Linked DNA regions of Homo sapiens: region 1 is linked to region 2. The links are contacts of gene promoters, found by promoter capture Hi-C in blood cells and fetal thymus (Javierre and others, 2016). All regions are on one chromosome and are shown on one strand. The core of a region is centred on a gene start or on the middle of the fragment in contact, and the rest is flanking DNA. Distances in the headings are between cores, read along the strand shown.

Evidence for each region. The method cuts DNA at HindIII sites, captures the fragments that hold promoters and counts their contacts. A CHiCAGO score of 5 or more calls a contact.
Region 1: a fragment that was not itself captured here is called in contact with the fragment with the promoter of SFRP1 in region 2 in 1 of 17 cell types (M2 macrophages); the score reaches 5.7 in M2 macrophages.

Annotation. Positions count from the first base shown.
Region 1 is chr8:40,250,812-40,254,311 of GRCh38, reverse strand. No RefSeq gene overlaps it. Among named protein-coding and RNA genes, the nearest start is that of SIRLNT, 91 kb to the left of the region's middle. The HindIII fragment of the contact is 2,917 bases long and covers 1-2,733 here.
Region 2 is chr8:41,307,628-41,310,971 of GRCh38, reverse strand. SFRP1 (secreted frizzled related protein 1) reads left to right here and starts at 1,499. Exons shown (of 3, transcript NM_003012.5): 1 at 1,499-2,356. The coding sequence starts at 1,813. RefSeq lists enhancers at 1,779-2,549, 2,550-3,321. The HindIII fragment of the contact is 12,075 bases long and covers 1-3,344 here.

The sequences.
Region 1 (3,500 bases), core at 26-2,525, 1.1 Mb after region 2:
AAAATAAATAAAAATTATCCAAGACCTGTGTGTGATAAGGGAAATTGTGAAACAGGTGTGTGTTTGTGTACTTGGTCACAATGTAAACTGTAAAATTCATCGCTCAGAGAGGATCTGTTGAAAAGTTTGAGAAATACTGCTTTAATAAAATTACTCATCTAAATATGCAACTTTTGCTGCAACAAAAGCAAACTCTATATTGTTATTCACAGTAATTTAACTACTTTGAGCCAGTTTCTCCCACATCTTCATCCCTGCAGTCTTTTTACATTACACTTGCATAACTAAAAGTATCATCCAAATAATTTTCCTGAAAGGAACTCCCGAAGAAGAGTTAGTCTCCACTTCTAGAGCAAAGAGCATTGTTTCTCACTTTTAAATAGATTTCACCCCTTCCATCTTCTACCTGTCAACATTTCCAAAAATTTCAGCTACAAATTTCAGTCAGGTATAGTTAGAATGAATAAGATCTGGTATTTGATAGCAAAACAAGGTGACTATAGTCAACAGTAATTTATTGTATATTTTAAAAGAACTGAAAAAGTAAAATTAGAATGTCCCTAAAACAAAGAAATAATGAAGACTTTAGGTGATGGATACCCCAGTTACCCTAATTTGATTATTATACATTGTATGCCTGTATCAAAACATCACATGTAACCCATAAATATATATACCTATTATGTACCCATAAGAATTTTTTAAAATGTTAAAAAAAAAATTTCAGTGAAGGGACCCAAAATACACCATTTTGCCATATCTTTTTTCTCATATCTTTTTAGAGGTTCATATCTTAATCCCCGATAATATAAACTCTCTGACGATTATTTGATGTTTATTTGAATTGCCATTCAGAAGGTACTTAATAAATACAATTCACTAAGGCTGTAACACGAGTAAGGTCCAAAAATTAACATGCAGTCTAGCATCATTGAGTAGCTAATGAAACCAATGTATGAGCCAGGTCAGCTTAAAAGCTGCAGTACCAAGGGTCCATGACTGTTGCACAAATCTGTCCTTGTCCGGGCAGTGTTTGGCGCCACCCGGTGGTTGTCATCTGTTCCACTTTAAATATTGCTGGAGCCAGTTCTGGGTCCTGTGGCCGGCTGGCTGGAGCTTCCAGGATCTCAGCAAGGATTGGCGGAATCTCCAGGTCAGCTGGTACATGTTTCATTGGCGGCTTCCATGATAAATGGAAAGGGAGAAAACTGGGAATGTGCAGAACTAACCTCTAGCTCCTGACTTCCAAGCTGAGGTTTTCATCTTTTTCCTACCTAGCCCTATACTTGCATCCTCACCTTTTCTAACCGCACCCCAACCCCAGTTGTGTTGGAAAATAGCAGCCAGAGGAACCATATTGTTTCCATTACATTTTAGCTTTGTTCATAGTGGAGTTTTACAGTTGTAGAGGAGGAAAAAACAGCTTTTCTCCTCTATACTCCTAGGTTTTCCAGCTGCGGCCCTTGTAAATTCAACTGACAAAAGACAGATGAAAAAGACAAAAGCATAAAAATGTATTAAGTTCTTAGAAAATGAAAACCTTTTTAAGGAAATGAAGACCTGAAGATATGATTAAACCTGAGTGGGTGGGTTTTTGTTTTTTTTTTTTTCTTTTTTCTGAGACGGAGTTTTGCTCTTGTCGCCCAGGCTGGAGTGCAATGGCGTGATCTTGGCTTACTGCAACTTCTTCCTCCTGGGTTCAAGTGATTCTCCTGCCTCTGCCTCCCGAGTAGCTGGGACTATAGGCACCCACCAACATGCTTGGCTAATTTTTGTATTTTTAGTAGAGACGGGGTTTTGCCATGTTGGGCAGGCTGGTCTTGAACTCCTGACCTTAGGTGATCTGCCTACCTCGGTCTCCCAAGGTGCTGAGATTACAGGCGTGAGCCACTGCGCCAGGCCAAACCTGAGTGTTTTTATACTAGGTTGGGTGTAGGGTGGAAAGTCATAGAAAAGTGTGGTAGGACAAAGGGGTGTGAGCTAAGAGTAGTGAACTGGGGGAATTTAGCAAAGCGTGTTCATGCAGATTCCCTTCAGAAACCCCTCACCCAGGAGGGTCTTATGACCTGCTTCAGGGGTTACAGGAAAGTCAGAGAGTCCTTCGTGCACCTGACCATTCTCAAATTCCTTCAGCTTAAAATATTCATCCTACCAGTGCCATATTTTGGGGAAGTGTGTTCTGAACCCCATCACAACCCATGGGGTCAAATAAAAAAAAAATACAGGCTTAGTAAGGAGAGATTTAACCAAAAAAAGTATTGCAAGGGGAGTGGGGAAGAGACTTGAAACAGGGAGAGAACTATCGCAATAGGAATAATGCCATGACATGAAATCTACCAGGACTCAAAGGCTGGGGAAATGGGTTTTTCTTTAGAAAGCGGAGTAAACAAGGCTGGAAACAGCTAAATGACTATGTAGCATGATCAGCTGGTAGATCAGACAGTGATTTACCTGAGGCCAGCCTATTTTCTGGTGTGCACCAGCTCAGGCTGAGGGTGAGCCACAGCTGAGGAGCTTGGGAGAAGTTTAGGTAACCAGCATTTTGTACCTGTTGATTTATGATGGCAACCGGTTCAGCTAATCATTGATGAGACCAAGAGTTAGAAATTTGGAGGGTCTGTGTCCGGCCTTGTCATAAGTAAACAAGACAGAAAATTATGAGTCTTAAGCCTCTTTGCAGTAAGTTGTTCTCAGAAACACCGATGATGAAGGTGTTTTTTTTTTTTTTAAGCTTCGCAGTTTTCCAGGAGAGTGGAACTCAGGTAAAGTTCAGCACTGTCACTGTTGAGTGATGATACCTGGGCAGAGGAAGAAGTAGGTCCCTCAGAGTGCCACTTTGAGGATAGTGGTGAAGGCTGCATAGAAATGGGGTCAAGTGGAGGCCTCACATCCCTGATGCCACCTGATCTACACTTCTACTCCCACTTTCTGACAACTGTAGCGTTTCCGTATTGGTTTTCATCACCAGGAATCTTTCCTGGGAAAATAAATTACGTCCAGTGTGTTCCTCTATAAACAGACTGCAAAGAGAGCATTGTCTATCAATGACAACCTGATGAACCCATTAGTAGTGATAACCCTTTCCTGGGACAGAAATGATTTCAGTCTCAAGCAAGATAATTTTGTCTAAGCAACTTATTTAAGGTGATTTATTTAATCATTAGAACATTTTAAGATTGTTTTACAAATTGCCTCTTCTCATAAATCAGAGTGGCAGTAAAAAATGTATCTAAAATACATTATAAAAAATTATGTGAATTGCTTAGCAAAAATGTGAATTATGGGGTAAGAAAAATAAGAAAAGCATTGCTCGTAAAGACAATTATTTTTAAAAATGCAGGACTATCATTTGTAAATATTTTTAAAAATACTGTCAGAATCTGTGATTAAAATCTTTTGAGAGTAAATTCATTTTGGCATTTTTATACATATGCTACCTGAATTACCATCAAACTATGAAATTGTCTTGTAAAAATTTAAGAAAACCTTTGCTTCTAGGA
Region 2 (3,344 bases), core at 250-2,749:
CTGTGGAGCGCTAAGATCTGTGACCCCTTTGCCACATGGGGTGTGCGCTCAGACTGGGCTATGAATATATCAGCCTCTCTCCACCCGCACTTAGGGACAGAAGATATGGAGACTCCAGGAACTTCATGAACTATTTGCTGTGGTCTTCTGTCCCGGGATAGTCCGGGTCTCACTCCCAGCTCTCCAGAGCTTAACCCTCCCTCTCAGGGGAATGTTTGAAACCTACGAAGAATTCTCAGGAATTCGAGGTAGAAGGTGGCAGAGAGACTTCTGTTCCTGGGGGCCGAGCTGTTGTGCTGATACCGTCCTCTTGGCGTCTGCCCTAGTGGGGACCCTTGATTTTAACTTGAAGTTCCTGGACTGGGTCTAACCTTAGCATGTGTGCCTGAGTGATGGACTTGGTATTTACACCAGCCACGCTGATAAGTGCACATGTGTTTTTAATGTTTTGGCTTTCCACACCACAAACACACAGATGTGCTGTCGCCCGGGCTAGGACTTGAGTAGGGTTTTTCTATTTAAATATATATTATATATTTAAAAAAGTGTCCTCCCAGAGCTAATACCGTTGCTAGCAGCTCTTCCTGCCGCCACACCGGGCAAAGTCCACCCACTGCCCCAGTGTTGAGGGCCACCATGGGCGGCCCCACCTGGAGAGGTGCTGCTCACAGCAAACAGCTCCAACTGCGCCTTCGCCTCGCCTTCCAGGGAGCCCAGCCAGGCCCACTGGGTATTTACAAGCAGACCTCCCTCGCTTCAGCCTTCCTGAACCCCTGTTAGTTGGGAAACCACCTGTCTGCACCGCAGCTAGAGAACCGAGGAGAGGAGCCGCTAGTCTAAAGGGCTGTTGGTTGAAATTAGGAAGCAGTGTAAAGAAAAAGAAAAAAAAAGTTTGGGAGGCCAAGGCAGGAGCATCACCTGAGGTCAGGAGTTCGAGACCAGCCTGGCTAACATGGTGAAACCCCGTCTCTACTAAAAATACAAAAAATTAGCGGGGGCATGGTGGCACGCGGCTGTAATCCCAGCTACTCGGGAGGCTGAGGCAGGAGAATCGCTTGAACCCGGGAGGCGGAGGTTGCAGTCAGCGGAGATAGCGCCATTGCACTCCAGCTTAGGCAACAAGAGCGAAACTGTCTCAAAAAAAAAAAGTCTTCATAATTTCATGGGTTTGCAAGTATGATCCAGGCTCCCCGCTTCTCTGCAAGCCAATGCGAGTTAATTACAGCGTCCGCCCTGGTCTCTCTCCACCCCACGCCGTGATCCATTCCCCTTCTTTTTCTCCCCTTGTCTCTTTCCTCCTCCCCCTTTTATTTATGTATTTTTGGTTTTGTTTTTTAAGGGGTGTTGAGCCGCGTCTGGTTCTAGTAAACCGAACCCGCTCGCGAGGGAGGCGATTGGCTCCCGCGCCGGTGACGGACGTGGTAACGAGTGCGGCTCGCCCCGCCGGGAGCTGATTGGCTGCGCGGGGCGGCTCCGAGGGCTCGGCCGTAGGAGCCCCGCGCACTCCAGCCCTGCAGCCTCCGGAGTCAGTGCCGCGCGCCCGCCGCCCCGCGCCTTCCTGCTCGCCGCACCTCCGGGAGCCGGGGCGCACCCAGCCCGCAGCGCCGCCTCCCCGCCCGCGCCGCCTCCGACCGCAGGCCGAGGGCCGCCACTGGCCGGGGGGACCGGGCAGCAGCTTGCGGCCGCGGAGCCGGGCAACGCTGGGGACTGCGCCTTTTGTCCCCGGAGGTCCCTGGAAGTTTGCGGCAGGACGCGCGCGGGGAGGCGGCGGAGGCAGCCCCGACGTCGCGGAGAACAGGGCGCAGAGCCGGCATGGGCATCGGGCGCAGCGAGGGGGGCCGCCGCGGGGCAGCCCTGGGCGTGCTGCTGGCGCTGGGCGCGGCGCTTCTGGCCGTGGGCTCGGCCAGCGAGTACGACTACGTGAGCTTCCAGTCGGACATCGGCCCGTACCAGAGCGGGCGCTTCTACACCAAGCCACCTCAGTGCGTGGACATCCCCGCGGACCTGCGGCTGTGCCACAACGTGGGCTACAAGAAGATGGTGCTGCCCAACCTGCTGGAGCACGAGACCATGGCGGAGGTGAAGCAGCAGGCCAGCAGCTGGGTGCCCCTGCTCAACAAGAACTGCCACGCCGGCACCCAGGTCTTCCTCTGCTCGCTCTTCGCGCCCGTCTGCCTGGACCGGCCCATCTACCCGTGTCGCTGGCTCTGCGAGGCCGTGCGCGACTCGTGCGAGCCGGTCATGCAGTTCTTCGGCTTCTACTGGCCCGAGATGCTTAAGTGTGACAAGTTCCCCGAGGGGGACGTCTGCATCGCCATGACGCCGCCCAATGCCACCGAAGCCTCCAAGCCCCAAGGTAAGGCTGCCTCCTCCCACGTGCGCGAGCCGCCCCCTCCATCCCCCGGCCGGAGCTGCAGGAGAACCCGCGCCACCCTACGCCCGCCCGCCGCTGGGTCCCGGTGCTGGGGACTGAGGGCCCGAGGTTGCTCGCATGCTGTGCACGTGATTCCTAAGCGCGTCTGGTCTGTCCCAGGTATCGCTCAGCGCCCCTCGCGACCCAGGTGCACGGCGGGGCTGGCCCGGGAGCGGCAGCTCTGCGCCTTGGCCTCGCAGGGACTCGCTGTGGTCCCCGGAGCCGCTCTTCCTGGGATCCAACTTCGCCTTTCCCATACCTGAAACAAAGCCTTGCGCTTTAAATAACAGGGGAGCTTCCCTCTCCTCTAGGAGGACTCCGAGTCCCTATCGAAGTTTTTAACCTCTGAGACGGGAGGAAAAAACAAAAACCCAAAGCGTAGAAAGTTCAGAAAGGCCGAGAGAATGCTTGGAGCAGCTTTTGTTTATTTTCATAGGTTCGACAAAGATTTAAAAAATAAAACCAAGCCCTTTCCTTCACTGGTCATTCAGTCAAGTAGCCTTGGGATTGCTGCAAAACTGGCTGAGAAAGTTTAGGAACCGTGGGGACTTCTGTTTCTCCACCCCTTCCAGGTACCAGCTCTGCCCTCGGAGGGCTGGGGGTGGAAAGTCTTTTCTCCCTCCCTCTAGCGTACCCCCTGCTTTTCTCATTTACACAAATCCTCAGCTCATTAGAAAGATAAAAATGTAATTAGCTCATTGTTCATCTCCTCCCGGGGAGAGCAGCTCTGCAAAATGCAGACTTTCCTAACAGCCTGAGGGACCGGCCCGAGGTTCCTCTCAAAACCCCCTTATGTTTAAAGAGCAATTCTTGAGGGGGAAGAAAAAAAAATCCTGGGAAGTCAAATAAAATGAAATAGATATAAAGATAAAATATACACATCACAGACCTGACTTCTATAGAAGTAAATTCAACCCAGAATTCTTTAGAA